Linked DNA regions of Homo sapiens: all the other regions are linked to region 1. Evidence: promoter capture Hi-C in 16 types of primary human blood cells and fetal thymus (Javierre and others, 2016). All regions are on one chromosome and are shown on one strand. The core of a region is centred on a gene start or on the middle of the fragment in contact, and the rest is flanking DNA. Distances in the headings are between cores, read along the strand shown.

What was found. The method cuts DNA at HindIII sites, captures the fragments that hold promoters and counts their contacts. A CHiCAGO score of 5 or more calls a contact.
Region 2: a fragment that was not itself captured here is called in contact with the fragment with the promoter of MRPL50 in region 1 in 5 of 17 cell types (total CD4 T cells, total CD8 T cells, fetal thymus and 2 more); the score reaches 10.6 in total CD4 T cells.
Region 3: a contact is called between a fragment that was not itself captured here and the fragment with the promoter of MRPL50 in region 1, in 1 of 17 cell types (naive B cells). The highest score is 6.7, in naive B cells.
Region 4: a fragment that was not itself captured here is called in contact with the fragment with the promoter of MRPL50 in region 1 in 1 of 17 cell types (total CD4 T cells); the score reaches 6.2 in total CD4 T cells.
Region 5: a contact is called between a fragment that was not itself captured here and the fragment with the promoter of MRPL50 in region 1, in 2 of 17 cell types (total CD8 T cells and activated CD4 T cells). The highest score is 6.0, in total CD8 T cells.
Region 6: a contact is called between a fragment that was not itself captured here and the fragment with the promoter of MRPL50 in region 1, in 1 of 17 cell types (naive B cells). The highest score is 5.4, in naive B cells.
Region 7: a contact is called between a fragment that was not itself captured here and the fragment with the promoter of MRPL50 in region 1, in 12 of 17 cell types (total B cells, activated CD4 T cells, fetal thymus and 9 more). The highest score is 25.0, in total B cells.

What each region holds. Positions count from the first base shown.
Region 1 is chr9:101,397,070-101,400,404 of GRCh38, reverse strand. MRPL50 (mitochondrial ribosomal protein L50) reads left to right here and starts at 1,787. Exons shown (of 2, transcript NM_019051.3): 1 at 1,787-1,904. The coding sequence starts at 1,813. ZNF189 (zinc finger protein 189) reads right to left here and starts at 1,554. Exons shown (of 3, transcript NM_003452.4): 1 at 1,216-1,554; 2 at 395-521. The coding sequence starts at 1,248. RefSeq lists enhancers at 1,554-2,083, 1,616-2,144, 2,145-2,674. The HindIII fragment of the contact is 1,128 bases long and covers 785-1,912 here.
Region 2 is chr9:105,238,479-105,241,813 of GRCh38, reverse strand. The region is part of intron 1 of LOC112268038 (a long non-coding RNA gene); the gene reads left to right. Among named protein-coding and RNA genes, the nearest start is that of SLC44A1, 4.5 kb to the left of the region's middle. The HindIII fragment of the contact is 746 bases long and covers 1,429-2,174 here.
Region 3 is chr9:97,627,541-97,630,875 of GRCh38, reverse strand. It overlaps TSTD2 (thiosulfate sulfurtransferase like domain containing 2), which reads left to right. Exons shown (of 10, transcript NM_139246.5): 2 at 3,264-3,335. The coding sequence starts at 3,314. Among named protein-coding and RNA genes, the nearest start is that of TSTD2, 4.2 kb to the left of the region's middle. The HindIII fragment of the contact is 6,117 bases long and covers 1-3,335 here.
Region 4 is chr9:104,983,944-104,987,278 of GRCh38, reverse strand. All of the region lies in intron 3 of CT70 (cancer/testis associated transcript 70), which reads left to right. Among named protein-coding and RNA genes, the nearest start is that of CT70, 6.2 kb to the left of the region's middle. The HindIII fragment of the contact is 1,325 bases long and covers 975-2,299 here.
Region 5 is chr9:104,961,404-104,964,738 of GRCh38, reverse strand. No RefSeq gene overlaps it. Among named protein-coding and RNA genes, the nearest start is that of CT70, 29 kb to the left of the region's middle. The HindIII fragment of the contact is 1,716 bases long and covers 813-2,528 here.
Region 6 is chr9:104,789,484-104,792,818 of GRCh38, reverse strand. It overlaps ABCA1 (ATP binding cassette subfamily A member 1), which reads left to right. Exons shown (of 50, transcript NM_005502.4): 42 at 1-33; 43 at 821-883; 44 at 1,791-1,897. It also overlaps a transcript of NIPSNAP3B not described here. Among named protein-coding and RNA genes, the nearest start is that of NIPSNAP3B, 27 kb to the right of the region's middle. The HindIII fragment of the contact is 6,998 bases long and covers 1-3,335 here.
Region 7 is chr9:104,760,756-104,764,090 of GRCh38, reverse strand. No RefSeq gene overlaps it. Among named protein-coding and RNA genes, the nearest start is that of NIPSNAP3B, 1.7 kb to the left of the region's middle. RefSeq lists a silencer at 34-233. The HindIII fragment of the contact is 717 bases long and covers 1,488-2,204 here.

The DNA.
Region 1 (3,335 bases), core at 538-3,037:
CACTTGAAAAACTGCCAGAGAAACGTTGTCCTTGGGATAGTGCCAGGTTTCAGTTAAGGCCAGGAGGGAAGGAACATTATGTGAAGACGAACAGGGGTTCCAGAACGCAGAGTGAAAAGGGGTGGGAGGAAAGCTGTGGGAGGATGAGCCAGGACGGAAAGTACAGAACAATATGGGAATGAGATTATGAAGACAGGATGCCCGAAAGGCTTGCAGTTTGGTCACCTCAAGGAAGCTAGGGATGAGAGTTATGGAAACAATTAATGGCTAAAAGGTTTGAATCAGAACTTTGGAACAAAGCAGTTTTGGTACTGGTTTCCGTCCAAATGTTCTGTTAGTCTGATTTCTCTCTACCTTCTTAGATATTTTAATTAGAGAAACAGCAGATTCTTACCCAGTGAGACCAGGTTTCCATAATTCTCCATCATGACATCTTTATACAGGCTTCTCTGAGCTGGGTCCAGATAATCCCACTCCTCCTGGGTAAAAAACACAGCCACATCCTCAAATGTCAGCAACCCCTGAAATAGTATGATTTCTGTAGTCAGTTCCTGTTGTCTCAAGGACAATTCTACCACTAAAAGTGACAGAGGCAATCACTTATTGTGGCCAAGTAGGCTAGGAGGAACATGATAACTGAAAGTTCCATATGTTGCCCAATTCTGGGAACGAACTGTAACTGACAGACATCTCAGACTAGAAAGGACCTACGGATAAGGCTTTTCTGATTTATTATGCCCTGAGAGTTTAATTTTAGTAAACTGCCCCAAGGCCTCTCCAAGCTTCCCTCACCTCATTGCCTACTTCAATTTTCCATTTGCACTGGCTTGTGACTCTATTCAATTCAATTCCTTGAGGTTCTCTAAGCGTGTACCTTGGGGTCCAGGCACTGTGCCAGGAACAGAAGACACAAGGGAAGGTCAAAAATGGTGCTTCACCTGGAGAACTCACAAATGAGAGAGCTAGTCTGGAGCATTACTTATTTTCTCAGGCCGATTTATCAAGTCTCTCTAGAAAAAGAAAAAAAAAAAGGGAGCCAGTGGGCAGTTTGTTCGCGAACCGCACCCCAATGCACTAGTGGGGAGTTCCTTGCAAGGCGCTGGCCCTAAAGAGGCGGTCAGGAGGTTGGTGGGGGGCCTGGGGGAGAAAGCAGTGGTGCGGCCTAGCTGGGGTAGCGGCGAGACAACCGGGATCCCCGGGGGGGTGCTTACTTACCTTCGACTCCGGCGGGGGGCTCGGGGAAGCCATCTCCCAGGCAGAGAATAGGGGCAGGAATTGGGGGCGGCCTCACGGAAAGGAGCCTCTGGTGAGGCCTACCCGGCTGCTGGAAATTAGGCTCGACGAATACGAGGATCCCTGGCTGGGTCTGGCCAGTGCCTGCCTCGGCCCCCAGACGGTCACGACCCCAACAGCATATCAGACGCGATCCCTGGCTGTCCCCCAACCCCGAACCCCAACCCCTACTCCTGCCTGGTTACGCAGCCTTTCAGGCCTCGCTAGAGCCTCCTCCCCGCTGCCAGTTCCTCCTCCTTGCAGCCAAGTAACGCTATGACCGCCCGCCCCCGGACCAGAAGGCGTCACCCAGATTCTTCCCGAGGCCCCCTCAACTACAACTCCCGTCATGCTCGGAAAGAGCGCCGCGGTCCAGACGCCGCCAGCAACAGCTACTGGACTACATTTCCCAGCGTGCAAAGGGCGAGGGAGCCTACAGGAAAAAGAAAGCTCTTGCCACTGGGATTGTATCCGATTGGCTGGTCTGGGCGCGTCACTGCTGGCTGAAGGCTGCGCTCAGGCCCGTGGATCTCATCGAAGATGGCGGCGCGATCTGTGTCGGGCATTACCAGAAGAGTCTTCATGTGGACAGTCTCAGGGACACCATGTAGAGAATTTTGGTCTCGATTCAGGTAAAGCTTTATGGTGGACGGTGGGTCATGTTCAAGGAAAGTTAAGGAGGATTAGGGACGAATTCAAAATAGAGTGTTACGCCATCGTGGTCCCGCGCCTGATCAGAGCAAGGACAAGGAGGTCCGGTTAGGGTCCCGAGTTGAGAAGCACTCATTGAGTGGTGGGACCCAGTCTCTTCCACTCTCGGCCTTAGTTTTCTCATTTTATAACGGAAATACCACCCCCTTTCCTTTTCACTTCACTCATTCATTTATTTATTAAGCAAGCAGGATTAACCTCGTGTGCGAGACACCGAGTGTGTTGTCTGCAAACACATGAAAGCGCTTGGTAAACTAAACTCATTTGCCGGCTGTGTTTCTTCACAAGCAAGGTTCAGTAATGAAGTACTGCCTCCTCCTTTTGTTTGTTCATTCATTCAGTCATTCAACAGATTTCTTAGGGCCAGCATTACTCTAAGCGCCTAGGATACAGCAGGAAAAACAAAATCCATTCTCATCCTCGAGGTACTCCAACATATGAGGAAACAGGCCCACAGGAGGGAAGTGATTTTCCCAAAGTCACAAAGCAAGTTAATTGCAAAGCTGGATCTAGAACATATGTCTCCTAACTCCCCATCTACTGCTTTTTCTGCTGCACGGCTGCACCATGTGTAATTGTTTGAAGGTAAATCTAATTTGACTTAGATAGTGTTTAGGAAATCAAAACGTATGGTAGGAACCCTAGGGAGCAATGTATGCTCTCTTAGGTTTAAAACAAAAACCACTACAATTAGGAAAGATCTTTTTCATCAGTTCAGATATTAGCTTTCCCTCTTCTTTGGTCAATATTTGTTATTATCTCTCAAATCTCTTCCAAGTTTGTTTTATTCATTCACTCAACAAATATTTTTTAGGCTGTTTACTATATGCCAGGCTATATCTTAGGTGTTGTAAGAATACAGTGGTTACTAAAACAGACCAAATTTTTGTTCTCGTAGGGCATATGTTCTAATGGAGGAAGAAATGAACAAATGTGTAATGTAATTTCAGAAAGTGGTAAATTATGAAGAAAACTAGAGGAAATAGATTACTGAGAATGATGATTATATTTTCTTTACTATTTTAAAAATTTTATATATTTAAGATATACAACTTGATGTTGATTATTAGTCAAGATAATTATCATATTCATCTCTTCACATACTTTCTGTTTTGTTTTGTTTTAGAGAAAGGAGTTCTCACTATGTTGCACAGGCTGGTCTTGAACTCCTGGACTCAAGTAATTTTCCCACCTTGGCCTCCCAAATTGCTGGGATTCCAGGGGTGAGCCACCACACCTGGCCAGTTAGAATTTTTGTGTGTGTGGTGAAAACACTTAAGATTTACTCTCAGAAGATTTCAAGTATACAGTACAGTATTATTAATGATCGTCACCATGGTGTACATTAGATC
Region 2 (3,335 bases), core at 552-3,051, 3.8 Mb before region 1:
GGTCACTCACTGAGGGAAAACATTGAATTAATGGTCTTTCCAATGATTTTTATGAAGCCTGACTTCTTGTTCACATGATTTCAGGTTTTGGGGTAACAGAAATACAAATGCGTCTCTACATGTATATGTCTATAACTGCTCAGAATAGTCCTCTTAATTTAAAAACCGTGGCATTTGGTGCTGTGGCTGTGTTATTTACATTTTAGCACATACTGTGCTCACAGTCACATCCCACAAGAGCTTATTTGCTTCAGCAGAGCCCTAGCTTCCAGATTTGCCTCACAACCTCTTCCTCCTGAGCATTCACATATCACCCCAGGGAGATGCTCCAAAAGCCAAAACTAATTGTAACCAAGGGCTGTAACTGTTCATTCATTGCCAGAGAGGCAAGAGCAGTCTCTATTTGAGAAGGTAGAAATGTATCTCAGCCTCCCAGTTAAACCAGAAGTTAGAAATCCACTTTACCTGAAGAGAGCTTTCCCTAACTCAGGCATGCAACAGAAAAAGACAACATTGTATTCAGCAAGACTGGCAATTCTTAAGTCCTTAGCTCTGCAACTTTGTTTCTGGTCACACTTGTAAGTTGATGTTCCTCCAATATTTATTAATAACTCTGGCTTTTATTTGTGGTTTCACTTGGATTTTTGTTGCAAGATCAAACAATGTATGAATTCTCTTTAAAATGCTTGTTATAAACTTGTGTTTAGAGGGGTGTATCTTCCTCCTACTACTTTTCTGAATGACTTTTTTAAACATTGTAGTCATTCAATTCATTTAATAATTTTTATATTGACTGCTTTCTATGAGCTAAGCATGTTCGATTTTGATTAAGTAGCCTGTGCTCATGCATCAGTTCTCAGGGATTTGAGCTGTTTCCAACATAAAATTAGTGTTGGTTTTTCATTTTGGGATGCTGGGATGAGGAAGGAGAGGAAATGGAAGCAGGGTGATGAGTATTAATTTGAGAAGGAAAGAAGAAATTTGTAAAGTAGGGAAATCTATTTATTTAACAGTGCATGTCTTGAGCCATTATAATGAACCAAATACCTAGCTGGGTGCCTGGGATTCAAAGACGAAGTACACTCCTTGCCTTTAGATCATTCTTAAGGGGTGGAAAGATATTTAAACCAAGAACAGAGTATAGTTTAAATGTAATGAAAGGGAAAAGTCCACATACTATATAAGCGTAAAGGAGGTCCACAAAGATTGATTTTTTTTTTTTTATTTAAAAAATGCTGTTACATTTTTTTCCCTATTAACCCTTTCTTACTTCCACTAGACAAGTTCCCACTGTGTACCAAAAGCCTAGAAAACAGTTTGGTATCCAGGAATGTTTCATAAATATTTATTCAATGAATGAATGAATTTTGTCAATGAGTCCCTAGGAATTTAGATTTATAAATGCCTAGAATGTCTCAAAGGAAAGCTTATCTTAAATATTAGATTACTACTTTTTAAAATACTTGTTGTTGCTGTTGTTTTACTGTAAAACTTCTGGTATAAAATAGGTTTATTTTTCTGGCTGGGCACAGTGGCTCATACCTGTAATCCCAGCACTTTGGGAGGCTGAGGCAGGCAGATCTCTTGAGCTCATGAGTTCAAGACCAGCCTAGGCAACATGGCGAAATCCTGTCTCTACAAAATATACAAAAATTAGCCGAGCGTCGTGGTGTGCATCTGTAGTCCCAGCTACTCAGGAGGCTGAAGATGGGAAGATGGCTTGAGCCTGGGAGGCAGAGGTTGCAGTAAGCCAAGATGGCACCACTGCACTGCAGCCTAGGCAATAGAGCCAAATTTTGTCAAAAAATAATAATAATAATAATTTTTCTAATATTGGAATTATAAAAGGCTTTTCTTTGGATAACACTAACCTAATACCATAGTAAAAGACAGATAGGATTAACTACATAAACATTTTAAAACTCCTACATGCAAAAGATACTACAAAATGAATACAAATGACAAAGAGATAAATAATACTTGCAAAGTCTATGTAAAGGTTTACATAATACACAAGAAGCTCCTATTTAAAACCAAAAGAAAAAAGAAAAAAAAACCCACTCCACAGAAATATGAGTAAAGGACATAACAGACAAAATCCACAGTGAAAGAAATACAAGAACTAATAAAACGTGAAATGTTGCTCAGCCTTACTAATAATAAAACTGTAAGCTTAAAAATTAGGAGACATCATTCCTCACCTAGCAAATTGGCAAAGATTTAAAAGCTTAATAATAACCAGTGTGAGAGAAGGTCACAGTACTCTATACATGATTAATGGTGATATAAATAGTTACCCTCTTTCTGGGGAGAAGTTTAAGAATTTGTATCAAAATGTAAAAGGTGTATTCTTTTAACCCAGCAGTTCTTACCCTGAGAATATCCAACAGCAATACAGTTTTGTTTTTAATAAGGACAAATTGAGAGAAAACTAAATTTCCATAAACAGAAGATTGGTTAAGTAATTGCTTAAATAATAGGAAGCACTATGCAACTGTTAAAAAGTAAGAGCAATCTGTATTTAATGACATGGGCTATGCATAACTAAAATATACCATCAACTAAAAACAGTAGTTTACAAAACAGGATTATGATGGAATCCTGTTCATGTCAATCGTTGTGTGTGTGTGATGTAAACTGTGTGTGCACAAGCACGTGTGTGCATGTTTGTGTAGATGAGGTTGTGAGGAATATGTACCAATCTGTTAACAGCAGTAACCTTTGGAGAAGAGGTGGGGATAAATCGTGGTGAAATAGAACCAGACAGAAGAGAGACATGTTCTGAATTATAACTTTTGAATTTTTTGTAGTTTTGACAAAAGCATGTACTTAAAAAAACTATATTTAAATATTTTAATATTATAAAACATTTTATTTTATTAAGGACAGGGAGGGGGTTCTCCTGAATGACCTGTTAATCATGAAGAACATATACAGTGTCCAGAGTACAGGGAAAGAACAGGTCACAAATGCAATGATTAGGAAAGGCTTCATAAATTGTGTTTCAGCTGGTCCTTAACACGTAGCTTTGGATAAGTGAAGATGATGGGAGAAAAAGAGAACTCTCAGGTATAAAATGACTTAAGCAAAGGTGCAGGCTTAGAAATCAATAAGATCTATTGCATGTTCCAGTTATCTGTTGTTGTATCCCAAACCAAACTAAAACTTGATGACTTAAAACAACAGCAGTCATCAACTCTCACCATTGGGGGAACAGAGTAGGCTCAGCTAAGCGGTTCTCGCTTGAGGGTTGTCAGGTGATTGCAGTTAGCTATGAGGCAGGAGTTATCTTGAAGTTTACTCATGCCCGGAGGTTGATACTAACTGTTTGCCAT
Region 3 (3,335 bases), core at 409-2,908, 3.8 Mb after region 1:
TAAATATGGAGTCATTTATTATATAGTATTCTAAACAGAAAATTTCCTTTATGTTTCCCTTTTTTCTTTTCTCATGTAATTTTCAAATATTTACAGAAGTAGGGAAAATTTATGATGAAACCCCATGTACTCATCATCAACTTCAGTAATTCTTAATTCATGGGTAATCTGGTTTCATTGATATTACCTCCTCTCTCTCAATTATTTTGAGGCAAATATAGTTTTAAGTCCTTGGAAGTAGATGAGATCACCTGTAGGGTAAGTATAGATAGAGTGGTTCAACATTTAGAGGTTGGGGTAATAAGGAAGATCCAGCAAAGGAAACTGAGAAGCAGGGGCCGTTATCCCTAGCTGGTATTTTCATGATTTGTTTGTTTGTTTGTTTGTTTGTTTATTACTTACTTAATGTCTCTCCTTACCAGAATATAAGCTCCAAGAGAGCAGGTACTTCAACTGTTTCATTCATAGCTGCATTCCCAGGACTATTCCATGGGCCCGGCACATAGCAGAGGTGCCACAAATAATAATAATTCAGAGTATGTACATAAATCAAAATAAGCTGAGACTGAAAAAAGATGCAGAGTCGGAGGAGATCATTTTGGGGTGGTGGGAAAGGCACCCCACACTCAGGTGCAGAGACCTTGAGTCAGGAAAGAACATGGCTCATTTGTGGAACTGGGCATGGTCCAGTGTGGCTAGAGTAGGATATCTGATGGGGAATGGGGAGCATAGTCAGAGATGAGCCTAGAGTATAGGGAAACTAAGTTTTTCAGGCCTTCAAAGGAAGCAGTGACACAGGGTAGCAGACAAGACATAAGTGAAAGGTGACACTTGAGTTCAGTCTTCATATACATAGTAAGCATATGGGGAGGGAAAGAAGTGAAAAAGTAAGGGAAACAAAGCAGTGGAAAGCATAAATGCTGGGACAGACTACATCAGGTCATATAGAGGGAGATTGGAAAAGATGCTGGAGGTGGGACCGGATTGGATAGTAATTCCTTTCGACAATGTTACCTCCCAAATGTACTGCCCTTATAGGTAAATAAGTTATCTGTTTCTAGAACAATGCCTGGAACCTAGAAGACCCTCCATAAATATTTGTTGAATGAATTTTAATTTGGAAATGATATATGTACTTTCTCTACCTTTACAATAAAACAGCTTTGAGCATGGAGGAAGTGTGTTGAATAAGATTCTTCTACTTATTTTACTTCTGCCTGGAAGGCTTACAGGTTTGTGTAGAGTTAGGGATGTACTTTTTTCAGTGGGACTTTATATGAAAGACATTTTCATGAGAAAGGAAAGAGAAGCTAAAGAAGGTAGTATTTCTTCACCCAGTCTCTTCCACTTATTTTTCAAATACAAGAGAATTTAGGTTTAATAAATCTGTATTACCTTGCCTTACCCTTATAACAAAGCTCATTTTGAGCCCCATGAAAGCACCACTTAGCTGATTCAAATGCATTTTATGTGGTGCAAGTGACATCTTAATTTATGAATCCAAGGAACAAAGGTCCTTTATAAGAAAGTTGGTATTGCCTGTGTGTGTCTGTGTATGTTTAGTCTCCATCAGTCCTATCCAGCATTGTTAACAAGCAGTGTGTGTTCCCCCACACATAAACTGCTCCTTGTTGCCTTCACCTGGTTGAGGTACCCTGTAGGCAGAGTTGTGAATTGGCAAAGTTTGTCACCAGTGTCTCCCACCTTCCTTTCTCTCATTCTTAGTGGTGCTTTTTCTGCTCCCTCTTGTGGAGTTTGGGACTACTTTGCATGTTACTATTTTCAGAACCTTCAGTGTCCACCTCTGGCTGCCTCCTTCAATATTGTCCTGAAGAAACTAACTTTGCCAGTTCACTAGTAATATGAAATAACCAGTTGTTATGTTGTGGGGCAGGAATTTGGACAGGGCACAACAGGGACACCTTGTCTCTGCTCTCAGCTCAGAGGCCAATCTGGAATCTGAAGGGTCTAGTGGTTGATGCTGGCTGTCAGCTGGAGGCCTCTGTTCCTCTCCACCTGGTTCTCTGTGTGTGGTCTCTGCATGGGTTGGATTGGCTTACTCACAATACAGTGGTTTGGTCTCCTCAGCGTGAGCATCTCAGAATGAGAGCTTGCACTAGCGTATCCTTTTGAGAACCCAACCTCAGTCATACAGCATTGCTTCCATCACGCTTTATTTTTGGGAGTAGTTAACAAGCCTGCCTAGGCTTAGGGAAATGGACCAGAAATACTGCTGCAGCCATTTTTGGAAAATATAATCTGTCACAGCTAATTTTTAAATAAAATTTTAATGTTAAATTTAAAATACAGCATTCAATTAAAATATTAATAATATTACCATTCATTGAACCCTAGTTTGTGCCAGACACTATATATTAATATTTCTTTCCAGTCTACAGTACAGTACTGTAATGTAGATACTACAATGCACAATTTCCACAAGAGAGATTTAGAACTCAGAAACCTTAAGTAGCTTGCCCATGTTCACATGCTTGGCAAACTGCTGCAGCACAAACCAAAGCCCATACTTTTTCTCAGTGTGCCTCTTAGTGCTTGTCACCTGTCACCTTTGCTTTACAAAAGAACCAACATGGTATGATGGTTGTAGTGTGTCCATTTTGACAAGATTTGGCCACAGTAGCGATTTTGACATTTCTTCTGGCATATTACAGTGGGGCTGTCTTGGGAACTATTTCTTCTAAGGAAGGAAATTTTCATAGCTCTGAAATTAAGGGGCAAAAAGAAGAAAGTGTTTATAACTGAAGGTGCTGGCACACATCTTGATTGATTTGGGTTGTACCTGTTGCTTTTCTGGTATTATTTACCCTAATGACTGCATGGCTCGCTCCCTAATTCAGGTTTCTGCTCAAATGCTATTGCTGCAGAAAGGCTTTTCCTACTCTCTGTGTTCGAAGGGCTTCTCCATCACTGCCTCCCTACCCTGCTGATTATTCTTCATAACCTTTACACCATCTGACTTTAAAAATAAAAAATCAATTTATCCACTTGTTTACTTCACCCCACTGGAATGTAAACTCTAAGCAGGCAGAAACTTTTTCACTTTCGTTTACTGCTATATTCTCAGTGCTTAGAATAGTGCTTGACTTCGAGTCGTTCCTAAGTAAATACTATTGATTTAGTAAGTAAATGGATGGTTAGCTTGGGCTACTTTGCCCATGCTGATTTGCGTGATTGATTAGCTTCATATTTTCTTCAAGAAATCAAAGAATAGCATGGCTGCTTCTTTCTTATTTATATTCTAGGAGGTATTTAACTGAAAGGAATATCTGCTTCACTGTTGCAACCAAACCAGATGCCTTCTTCCACTTCACCAG
Region 4 (3,335 bases), core at 388-2,887, 3.6 Mb before region 1:
AGCATAAGATATTTTGGTATGGCAGCCTGAATGGACTGAGACACTAGGAAAAAGGAAGAGAGAGAAAGATTAAGGAATTCAGCAGGAGGCCAGATCTTAAAATGTGGACCTGGTCCAAGGCCTTAAAGAATAGAGATGACTGATACTGAATTTAAAATTGATTGGGTTCTGGGAGGCGGAGATTGTGGTGAGCCGAGATCTCACCATTGCATTCCAGCCTGGGCAACAAGAGCGAAACTCCATCTCAAAAAATATATATAAATAAATAAAATAAAATTGACGGTTTTTTTGTAATGTAAAACCTCCTTTTTTCCAAACTTTAATAAATGTCACTACATACGTGAACGCCTCTATAAGTTTCCTGTGAGTATTAATTTGAGTTAAACATCTGTGAGATACAATGTGGACTACAGCAAAACAATCCCTTACGAGAATAATTCTGAAGAAGCTGGTGTTGGGAGCCTGAGCTAATCAAGAAATATAAGGAACCCTTTGGAATTCAAAGAAGGCTTGGGAAGATTATTTGGTTTACCATAATCCATAGAAAAGGAGGTCTTAACCACTTATTTCCATCTGAGGGGTCAGGATAACTCCAGCTGGCATCTGAATTTCAGATGTAAAGAACCTAGCATAGAGTAGGCACTTCAAAAAGTGGAATTTAAACAATTTAATTGATTGAATCCTTATGGAGTTTTTTTTATGCCAGAACAATTCTAAGCACTTTACATATACAACACTTTTAATCCTCATTATAACTCTATATGTAATATTATTACCCCACTTGAAAAATGCATACACTGAGTCACAGAGAACGTACCACAGTTAGCAAGTGGTGATACCAAAGTTCAAATACAGGCACATGTATATTCTAACTAATAACTATTGTGGTCTCTGCAACTATAGCTGGCGTTACTCTGCACTGCCAAGCTGATGCAAGACTCCCTGTCCTCTGGGTGTAGGCACAATTTTAAGCTTATTGACCACCGACTGTGGAAGAGGTTCCAACAGGCCAGGAAGTTATCAGGAGGGGAGGAAGTGGAGAAGTAGCTTCAAGCCTGGAGGCTTTCTGCCCATGGAGCATGTCCAGTGTGGCCAAGGAAGACATTGTCTTCCCTGGCTGTTTGTTCTCTAAGCTAGAAATTATCTTAAGGAGATAGTAATGTGCAAAAAGTGATTGCTTTCCTGGCTGAGATGTCCTGAGGGGGATGGAAGTAAACAGACTTTGAAGGGATGGGATACTTAGGATGGCTGGAAGGCAGCCCAGGAGCTCTAAGGGGATACAAGAGAGGGCACTGCAAGGGGACAGTGATGTCACCAGGACACCGCGTCCCCCAAAGCCAAGGGAAGCAGTAGCTTAGTGGCTCATAGGACTGTGCCACCCTTTTCCACTCCTAGCACTCACCCTCCAGGCAACCTCAGGTGGCCTCTTCAGGCCTTTGAGAGATGCCAAGGATCATGGAATTGGCTTGGAGGGAAAAACATTATGGAAATCTAGGAGATGCTTGGCAGAGATGCCCCCCGCCCCTCCCCCCACCAAAAAAAAAAAAAAAAAAAAAAGAAAGCTGTTTGTGGGAACTGTGGCCATAGATTGCCATTTGTTGGAAGACCCAAAGAAAGCTAGTATAGTAAAACAGACCCAAGTTTGGAGACTGTTGTTAATTAATTTCTGTAAGCCTCACTTATCTCAAGTATAAAATGAGGATAATGACACCTACCTCACAGGGCTATTTATAAGATAAAATCAGAGAATGCAGGTGAGGATGCTTTGAAACTATAAATACACCACAGAAATGTTATTTGCATTGCTGAGAGAAACAGTGTTTGGAACATTGTTCATAATCAATCAACTCAATTTCCAGCTACATTTTGGTAGTCAAAATCCAGTCCCACCCCCAAATAGAAATCAGTGTCCCCTCATCAAAACTGAAAAGAAAAACACTTCGATTTGTGATTGGTTTGCATCAGCTTATTCCCAACAGATATTCCATAATTTTTTACACTGGATCTTTCCCCTCTGCTGCTAGCTACAAAGAGAGATTAGATGAGCCATCTGGCTGATAGGGAAAGTGCTTTCTCATCTTTTAAAGTATCTTCCTCATCCATCAAAGGGCTCAGCGTGATTGGATGCTTCTCTCATTTGCTCCCTCTTTTCTTCCTCTGGCAAGTCTCTGTGCCTTTCAAATTGTAAATAATTTCCCAGACACAGATTACCTTCTCTTGGGCCCTCCTGCACCCACCCCATCAACTGTCCCTTAGCTACTGATGCATTTTTCCTCTCACATTCTGGCACCCCCAAGCTTCCAAATAAAGATATTTAATAGCTATTCCTGCTCTGTAACAAGAAATCAATATACTAAAGGAAAATATAGATTTGGGGATGGAACAAAAAGGTTCTAGGAAGCAGAACATCTGTCGCCTTCATAAATTGTTCCAAAGCTTCTCATAAATGAGACAGTAAGTTCAGAGTTTCCCCTTTGATCTCTTTCACTTCATAGACATTAAAGGTAAAGGGCTATGACTCTTTGTTTTGTACTCATTTGCTAGATTCAGTTACCAAATACGTTTATGAGAAATATAGGAATTAAAAAACCTACAACTGGGAAACATCAGTCATGAATGCAGTGTCATTAAGAGGCAAGTTAATTATAATCAGAGTGTAAAAACAGTGGGCCTGAGGAAGAGAGATTATCCTTTTTAAAGTTGATATAAATGAAGTCTACAAACTGATAAACACTCAAAGCAGTCAATGTAGGTTATTTTATTCTCAAACCTGCTGCGGCTTGGACTTTTACCAAGTCCACTCTTCCATCCATAACCAGGATTTAATAATAGCTGTAATTATTAAATATTTATTCTGAGCATTGGGCTAGCATCTTATGTACTTTATCTCTTTCAATCTTCATAATAATATCTCGTGAAGTGGCAGCCTTGAAGATGAGGAAGTGGAGGCGATGGGCTGTTAGCCACTTTGCCCAAACTCCCCATTCTGATAAGCAGCAGGGCTGGCATGTGAACTCAACTTGTCTAACTCCAAAGTTCAGGCTCCGAAGTATTATTTAGAGTTCCTTCCCTCATTTCTGACATCGTATCTTCATTCAAATTTCCCCTCCATTTTTGGTTTCTGTACTTCTCATTCTAATAAATTACTTTTATAAATATTGCTTTATTGAACAAAGCCAATAGTTGTAATTATAAGAAAAACAACAATATCAGTTATCATTGGAGGGTTTACTGAATGTCTGTCCCTGAGCTGGACCCTCACAAACACAGTTAAATTCAGGTTTGAGGAATCCTGTACTCACATCTATTCTTCATTATCATCAATGTGTCAAGAA
Region 5 (3,335 bases), core at 421-2,920, 3.6 Mb before region 1:
TATATATGTAATGTTAAAGATGTTGAGCCACAGAAAATCTCATCTACTATTGATGTTAATGTAACTTGATTCTGTTTGGCAATATCATAAAAGTCAAGATTACAAAGCAAGTTCACTCTGGGCATACATTCTAGAGAAGCTCTTGTATATATGCATAAAAGGACATGTCAAAAATATTCATGACATTCATGATGATGAGAGCCAAAAATAGAAAACAATATAAAATGTCCCTTAAGAGAAGAATGGATAGTTGATTACTTCATTCACTGGAATATTACAAAGCAAATGAAATTACTTATTTTATTTTGTTTTTTGAGATGGAGTCTCACTCTGTGGCCCAGGCTGCAGTGCAGTGGCATGATCTCAGCTCACTGCAACCTCCACCTCCCAGGTTCAAGCAATTTTCCTGCCTCAGCCTCCCGAGTAGCTGGGATTACAGGCGTCTGCCATCATGCCCGGCTAATTTTTTGTATTTTTAGTAGAGATGGGGTTTCACCATGTTGGCCAGGCTGGTCTTGAACTCCTGACCTCAAGTGATCCACCCGCCTCGGCCTCCCAAAGTGTAGGGATTACAGGTGTGAGCCACTGCGCCCGGCTACTTGCAAATGAAATTACAAAGAAAATGAATATTATAAAGAAAATGAGTAACTGCATTATCAACATGTATAAATCTCAGAAACATAATTTGTGCAAGAGCAAGTTACAGAATGATGTCTACAGTGTCAGTATGATACCACATATAAAGTTTGGAACATACAAAAGAATACTAGTTATTGATTATGGACACTTTTATGTAGAAAATATAAAAAGCTTGTATGGGATTAATAAACACCAAATTCAGGGGAAAGGAAGGAAATAAAATTGGAAGGAACTTCAAACATGTCTGTAACATTTTATTTCTTTATTTCTTGAAATTGTCCATCAAAAAGAAAAAAAAGGAAGGAAAAGACGGACCAGTTTGGGGAACTGAAGTTACACTTACATTTTCTTTCTTTCTTTTTTTTTTAAGATGGAGTTTCTCTCTTGTTGCCCAGGCTGGAGTACAATGGCACTATCTCAGCTCACTGCAACCTCCACCTCCTGGGTTCAAGCAATTCTCCTGCTCCTACTCAGCCTCCCGAGTAACTGGGATTACAGGCATTGTGCCACCACGCCTGGCTAATTTTGAATTTTTAGTAGAGACGGGGTTTCTCCATGTTGCTCAGGCTGGTCTCGAACTCTCAACCTCAGGTGATCTGCCTGCCTCAGCCTCCCAAAGTGCCGAGATTATAGGCGTGAGTCACCGCACCCAGCCACACTTAACATTTTCAAATAACTTTCTGAGTTTATCTTATAATTCAATCCTATGAGCCATCACTCACTATAGGATCTCCTTGGCACTGAGAACTAAAGCAGGTAGGATCTTGCTGACAGCCATCTGCGCAGCTTTGTGTCTCCACATTCCTGCAACACAGTGGGACTAGTGGAGACAACATGGTTAGCTGACACTAACTGTCCTAAATTTGGCCAAAAAATTCTTACTCTAGGAGTGGAGCAGGTGCAGGCTGAGGGCATGGCTTTCTACTACAGGTCTATGGTGAATGCAGAGAGAAGGTGCAATTGTAAGCACTAAACACATCTCTCCATTCGCGTCTTCAAATCAAAACGCCAGATTAATCTATTGGAATTATATATACCAGTGAGTTGGCAGGTGAGCCAAATTCTTACACGAGAGTCTCTTCTCTCCCTTGCAATCAGTTTTCAGTTTTAGAAAAGATGTTTTTTGTACCTTTTTTAAAGGATTGAAACAGCAAGAGATCCACCTGCAGAGAACATATTGTATTTTGCTATATTAAAGCTATTTAACTGAAAATCCAGTTCTGCTGAAAAGTTTTAACCCTTGTTTTCTTATTATTTTAGTAACACATTGTCACTATAATAATTGGCTATTGAAAAATGTGTCTTTTTTTTTTTTCGTAACAAGAACACATAGGACTTGTTTTCTGGTTTCCACCTTCGACTTTATACCTTGAATCACAAGTCCTCCTGGGTTCTCAATAATGTGTATGAGAATGCCTTTCCATTTATCAGCAAACAAGACTTATTAATTAGGAACCCACATTTGCACACTACTCTACTGAGCACCTAATGAGTAGGTTTTATTTTATTTTATTTTATTTTACTTTATTTTATTTTATTTTATTTGAGACCGAGTCTCTCTCTGCCGCCCAGGCTGGAGTGCAGTGGTGTGATCTCGGCTCACTGCAGCCTCCACCTTCCAGGTTCAAGCAATTCTCCTGCCTGAGCCTCCTGAGTAGCTGGGACTACAGGTGCATGCCTCCACGCCCGGCTAATTTTTTGTATTTTTAGTAGGGACGGGGTTTCAACGTGTTGCCCAGGTTGGTCTTGAACTCCTGAGCTCAGGCAATCTGCCCACCTTGGCCTCCCAAAGTGCTAGGATTACAGGCGTGAGCCATCACGCCCAGCCTATGAGTAGGTTTTAAAAAAGACACCATCTTTACCTGATAGAGCCTAGAGTTGTATAAGCTTTTCAGTCTTCCTCTTTGGCCATACTGTTTTTGCTAATCGTTTTATAACCTTTAAATTGTTGGAACTGTTTGAGGCCAGGACTATAACCCCGTTCATGCCTTGGCTGAAGGTGGTAGGAAAGAGTTTCTCTGTCTTTAAGGAAAGCCTGCTTAGCTTTTGGCCATGGGCAATTGACTTTTCACCTTCTCAGCTGGTTTACACACAAGATTCTCTGTGAGGCAAAAAGCCAGATACAGCCTATTTCAATTGCCTCACACCCGGAGAAGGGAAAAGTGGTCCATCTTTACACCATGGTGTAGAGCTGCAGCAAACAGAAAATCTTCAAGGCAGTGTCAGCAGCTAATAACATCCACCCACACACACTTGAATTCACTTTATGGGGCTTACTCCCATATGAAGTAACGCCAAAAAACATTGACCTGTATAAACATGATCAAGTTCTATTATCATACCACTGGAATAAACAGCAGCAGTTTAGAAAAAAAAAAAGTTCTTAGTTAACAGAACTATGATCAACATACTTTTATGTGAGGGGCTCCATTTCTACCAACAAAGAGCGATGTTTTAAGAGTGAATTTCTCGCTTAAACCTTGTTACTTTAGTTAGTTTATCAATGTATAGCCCTGGCTGCTGATTTTTGGCTAGCATGGCTTTCCAGGGCAGAGGTTTCAGACTCCCAGGCAGGTGAGGACTTAGGTCTCTCCGAGAAATGATGTAGTAGAGCTTTCTCATTTGAAAGAACAGGAAATCAGGCAACAAAGGTTACTAAGGGTCAGGATGACTCATGCAGCCATATGCATGAGGGC
Region 6 (3,335 bases), core at 299-2,798, 3.4 Mb before region 1:
AATGACATCTTAGAAATCAAGGAGTTGACGAAGGTGAGAGAGTACAGGTTACAATAGCTCATCTTCAGTTTTTTTCAGCTTTATGTGCTGTAACCCAGCAGTTTGCTGACTTGCTTAATAAAAGGGCATGTGTTCCCAAAATGTACATCTATACCAAGGTTCTGTCAATTTTATTTTAAAAACACCATGGAGACTTCTTAAAGAATTCTTACTGAGAATTCTTTTGTGATATGAATTCCCATTCTCGAATACATTGGTTTTATATGCTTACATTTATGTGTTAGTTATTAAAACATACTAATATTGTATATCTAGTCAAAACTGAGGTAGAGAGAATAAATGGTTGATTTTGAGTTTGAGTTTCATAGTCCAAAAAGCTGATATATTGCCTGTGTTCAAGAGGGTCTATATCAGCCCTCTAGATGCCAGCATCTCCAAATTTTACTTTTTTGGAATCTGTACAGTATTTGCAATATTTTTATTACAAATTTCTACTCTGTGGAATTTAATTTTTAAAATACCTGCAATACATATATATGTTGAATAGATGAAAAATTATGTAGATAATAATGAATGATACGGTTCTAAAAAGACAGGTTAAAAAGTAAGTTCACTTTTATTTTGAGCTTCAGAATCATTCAGAAGCCAGTCGCCACAAACGCAGACCAAGGCTCTTGGCACATCAAATATGCCTATGGCTTAGGGTTATTGACAAGTCTTATGTTGCAGTGTATGTGGTTTATAGTCCTGCCTTCCACAGTTGCTTGGGAGAGCTGTGAGTCACTGAGGCTTATGAATGTTTACATTTTGTTTGTTGCAGATATATAGAAGGAAGCGGAAGCCTGCTGTTGACAGGATTTGCGTGGGCATTCCTCCTGGTGAGGTAAAGACACTTTGTCTATATTGCGTTTGTCCCTATTAGTTCAGACTATCTCTACCCAATCAAGCAACGATGCTCGTTAAGAGGTAAAAGTGGATTTTAAAGGCTTCTGTATTTATGCCAGGATGGAGCAATTAGTCATCGAGAAGAGAGGGACCCTGTATGTCAAGAGAATGATTTCAGAGAATCCAATACAATTTAAGAAAAAGCATGGGGCTGGGCGCAGTGATTCACTCCTGTAATCCCAGCACTTTGGGAGGCCGAGGTGGGCGGATCACGAGGTCAGGAGATTGAGACCATCCTGGCCAACATGGTGAAACCCCATCTCTACTATAAATACAAAAATTAGCTGGGCATAGTAGTGCATTCCTGTAGTCCCAGCTACTCGGGAGGCTGAGGCAGGAGAATTGCTTGAACCTAGGAGGGGGAGGTTGCCCAGATTGCGCTGCTGCACTCCAGCCTGGTGACAGAGTGAGACTCATGTCAACAACAAAAACAGAAAAAGCACGCACATCTAAAACATGCTTTTGTGATCCATTTGGGATGGTGATGACATTCAAATAGTTTTTTAAAAATAGATTTTCTCCTTTCTGGTTTCCGTTTGTGTTCTTTTATGCCCTTTTGCCAGAGTAGGTGGTGCAATTTGGCTAGCTGGCTTTCATTACTGTTTTTCACACATTAACTTTGGCCTCAACTTGACAACTCAAATAATATTTATAAATACAGCCACACTTAAAATGGTCCCATTATGAAATACATATTTAAATATCTATACGATGTGTTAAAACCAAGAAAATATTTGATTCTTCTCTGATATTTAAGAATTGAAGGTTTGAGGTAGTTACGTGTTAGGGGCATTTATATTCATGTTTTTAGAGTTTGCTTATACAACTTAATCTTTCCTTTTCAGTGCTTTGGGCTCCTGGGAGTTAATGGGGCTGGAAAATCATCAACTTTCAAGATGTTAACAGGAGATACCACTGTTACCAGAGGAGATGCTTTCCTTAACAAAAATAGGTGAGAAAAGAAGTGGCTTGTATTTTGCTGCAAAGACTTTGTTTTTAATTTATTTAAAGAAATAGGTTGTTATTTTTGATTACAGTGGTATTTTTAGAGTTCATAAAAATGTTGAAATATAGTAAAGGGTAAAGAAGCACATAAAATCATCCATGATTTCAATATCTAGAGATAATCACAATTTACATTTCCTTTCAGTCTCATTCTCTTCTTTTAACAGCTTTATTCAGGTATAATTTACATACAATATAATTTGCTTGTTTTTTAAGAGTATAATTTAGTGATTTTTGGTAAATTGAGAGTTTTGCAACCATCACCACAATCCAGTTTTAGAACTTTTCCATCACCCCACATCTGTCTTATATACACATATAAATGTGCCATACAATTGAGATCATACTGTATGTAGAATTTAAAATTAGTTTTTATTGTTAATGAGTGTATTATGAATATTTCCCAGTGGGTTACATTTCCTAAGATGTGGAATTTTACATTGCTACATAAAATCCCCCTATGTACATGTACCTATAATTTATTTAATAAATTCCTTATAAATGTTGGACACATTAGTTTCCATTTTTCACTATGTAAATATGTCCCTGTATACATCTTTTATTATTTCCTCAGGAACAATTCCTACAAAGTAAATTGCCCTCTCTAAAGAGCATACAAATTGACTGAGCCACCGTTAGGCCATTTTCTGAGACTGCACAGGTCACAAAGCAATCTGATCTTTGGGAATACAGCTACATTTTATAGGCTTCTTAGATAATGTTACTCTAAGTACTTTAAATATGTGGGGCTTCTCTGGGCTTTTTTTTTTTTGAGACGGAGTTTCACTCTTACTGCCCAGGCTGGAGAGCAATGGCGCGACCTTGGCTCACTGCAACCTCCGCCTCCCAGGTTCAAGCGATTCTCCTGCCTCAGCCTCCTGAGTAGCTGAGATTACAGGTGCCCGCCACAATGCCTGCCTAATTTTTTTGTATTTTCAGTAGAGATGGGGTTTCACCATGTTGGCCAGACTGGTCTCGAGCTCCTGACCTCAGGTGATCCACCTGCCTCAGCCTCCCAAAGTTCTGGGATTACAGGCATGAGCCACTGCGCCCGGCTTCTCTGGACTTATTATGTGGAGAGATAGTACAAGGCAGTGGCTTTCAGAGTTTTTTGACCATGACCGTTGTGGGAAATACATTTTATATCTCAACCTAGTATGTACACACAGACATGTAGACACATGTATAACCTAAAGTTTCATAAAGCAGTACCTACTGTTACTAATTGTAGTGCACTCTGCTATTTCTTATTCTACCTTATACTGCGTCATTAAAAAAGTGCTGGTCATGACCCACTAAATTTATTTCCCAAACCACTAATGAACAATGACTCACAATTTGAACACACTGGACAGGGGGATAGCCAATAAAATTGAAAAGAGCAA
Region 7 (3,335 bases), core at 597-3,096, 3.4 Mb before region 1:
AGGCGCGACAGGTCCCGCAGTTGGCGTCTTTCTCTTCGGCGCTGAGCCTCGGTCCCCCTTGGTTTCCTGAAACGTTCTTGCCCCAGACGTTAGAGGTGACAGAATTAGCTGAAGGCTGGGATCGTTCCTGCCCCACCTTTCTGGGCCCTGACCTCATTCGCTCCGATGCGCAGTTGTGTAGATTCGTAAATGTGCGGCGGTTGTGCTTGTGTTGCCCCTGGAGAAGGAAGGGGAGGTGTTCAGCGTGTGCATGTGCAGTGCTTTGCATTTAAAGTCGAGATGTTGACAGGGTTAACTTGTTTCTTTGTTTGAGACGTAGTCTTGCTCTGTCGCCCAGGCTGGAGTGCACTGGCGCGATGTCGCCTCACTGCAAGCTCCGCCTCCCGGGTTCACGCCATTCTCCTGCTTCAGCCTCCCCAGTAGCTGGGACTACAGGCGCCCGCCACCACGCCCCGCTAATTTTTGTATTTTTTAGTAGAGACGGAGTTTCACCATATTGGCCAGGCTGGGACAGGGTTAACTTTTACAGGTTGTGATAGACGTGTATTTGTAGACCAGTGAGCCTTCGCTTTTCTGCATTATCTGTCCCCATTGCCACCCCACTGTGATCTTGGAAGGCTCCTAATAAAGATTTAATTTTCCATGAGCTCAGTGGAATAGCAGCACCGAGCCTGATAGGAAAAAGTCGAAGTTAAACATAGATAGTTTGAAACTAGATCGTTCTGTAAGCCTTAAGAGCAAAACAGCCGACCTCTGGTCTAGTCCTCCCAGTCCCAGAGTACTGGTCCCCAGACTAACCACCTTCAACATTTTAAGCTGTTCTTCTAATACCTGTTTCCGTATGTTTTTTATTTTTTTGAGACAGAGTCTTGCTCTGTCGCTCAGGCTGGGGTGCAGTGGCATGATCTTGGCTCACTGCAACCTCCGCCTCCCGGTTTCAAGAGATTCTCCTGCCTCAGCCTCCTGAGTAGCTGGAATTACAGGCGCACGCCACGACACCTGGCTAATTTTTCTATTTTTAGTAGAGACGGCGTTTCACCATGTTGGGCAGGCTGGTCTTGAACTCCTGACCTCAGGTGATCCTCTCGGCTCAGCCTCCCTAAGTGCTGGGATTACAGGCACGAGCCACTGCGCCTGGCCCGTATTTTTAAATAATAGTCATTTTCTGCTATTTCTTGCATTTTCAGTTATGGAGAGTATGTGTTGCCTTCCTTCTGTGGCAGATGAGGATTTAGGTCTCACAGAAGCCACTCCCCCGGGGGCTTATCATTTGTGTTGAGAACATTCAATATCCTCCTAGCAATTTGAAACTATATATTATTAACTATAGTTATCCTGAAGTGGTATAGAGCACTAGAACTTATTCCTCCTATCTAGCTATAATTTTGTTTAACAAATCTCTCCCATCCTTGTCTTCCTCCTAATCTTTCCCATCCTCTAGAATCCTGTTATACTTTTTATTTCTGAAATCAACTTTTTTTAAAGCTTATACATTAATGAGAACATGTGGTGTGCAACTTTCTCTTGTTGGCATATTTCACTTAACATAATATCCACCAGTTCCAGCCATGTTGCTGTGAAGGACAGGATTTCATTCCTTTTTACTGCTGAATAGTATTCCATTGTGTATATATAACATACTTTCTTTATCCATTAATCTTGCTGGACACCTAGGCTGATTCTGTATCTTGGCTATTGTGAACAGTGCTGCAATAAACATGGGGGAGGGAAGATGTCTTTCTGATATACTGATTTCTTTTCCTTTGGATAATGCTCAGTAGTGGGTTATTTGTAGTTTCTTGAGGAAACTCCATAGTGTTCTCCATAGTAGTTCTAAGAGTTTACATTCCCAACAGTGTATACGATTTTCCTTTTCTCTGCATCCTCATCAGCTTTGTTTTTTGACTTTTTGATAATAGCCTAACTGGGGTGAGATAATACCTCACTTCCCTGATGATGAGTGATGTTGAACATTTTTCATGTATTTGTGAGCTATTTGTATGTCTCCTTTGGAGAAATGTCTGTTCAGATCATTTGCCCATTCTTAAATTGATTTGTTTGGTTTTTATTGCTGGTGAGATGTTTGAGTTTCTTGTATATTCTGGATATGAATCCCTGTCAGATGAATAGTTTGCAATTATTTTTTCCCATTCTATAGGTGGTTTTTTCACTCTGTTGATTTTTTCATTTGCTGTGCAGAAGCTTTTTAGTTTGACATAATCTATTTTTGCTTTTGTTGTCTGTGCTTTTGAAATCTTATTCATAAAACTTTTTCCCAGACAATGTCCGGAAGCATTTCCCTTATATTTTCTTCTAGTACTTTTAGTTTCAGGTCTTACACTTAGCTCTTTGACCCATTGAACTGAATTTTTGTATAGAGTGAGAGGTGGGGGTCTAGTTTCACTCTTCTGCATATTGATATCCAGTTTTCCTGGCACTATTTATTGAAGAGACTGTCTTTTCCCCAGTGTATGTTCTTGGCACCTTTGTCAAAAACCAGTTGGCTGTAGATGTATGGATTAATTTCTGGGTTATATATTCTGTTCCATTGGTCTGTTTCTGTTTCTATCCCAGTACCATGTTGTTTTGGTTACTATAGCTTATAGTATATTTTGAAGGCTGGTAGTGTGATGCCTCTAGCTTTGTTCTTTTTGCTTAGGACTGCTAAAAGCAAATTCTTGATAAAGAAATAGACCTATTCTTTATAAGATATTAAATAACAATATCTAATGGTAGGTGTAAGAGGTATAATAATTTTGAAGTAGTGATGAAGGTAAAATAAATTTTCTGTATTTGCAACAACTATAAATAGAATTTGACAGTATCTGTGATTTTTACTGACTAAAAAGTTGCAGGTCCTGCTAATAATATTGTGGTTTGTTGCCTACCTTCACAAACAAAGGAAATGCTTAGAAGTTGGTGCCAATAAAGATGGAACTTTTACCTATCCAAGTTATCAGACTCTGAATTCTATCCTTCAGGATTTGTGTACTAGAGGTTACAAACCACTACTCTAGAGTATATAATTAGGAATGGAATTGCTGGGTCATAAGTTATGTATATATTCATCTTTATTAAATCGTGCCAAACTGTTCTATAAATGTATATTCTTAATAGCAGTGTATGAGGTTTTCCTGACCAATTTCTTATTATTGCCCATCTGATCTGATGAGTGTGAAGATGCATTTTTACACCTCTCATAACAAATAAGTATTAGCTGAAGGATGGTGGGAATTACAAGAAGTGGGCAAAGGGAACAATCTACTTGATGATGTTCTTGCATGTTTTTTTTTTTTTTTAAAGGTCAGGCTCATGCAAAAGCAGGAGAGGTGTAT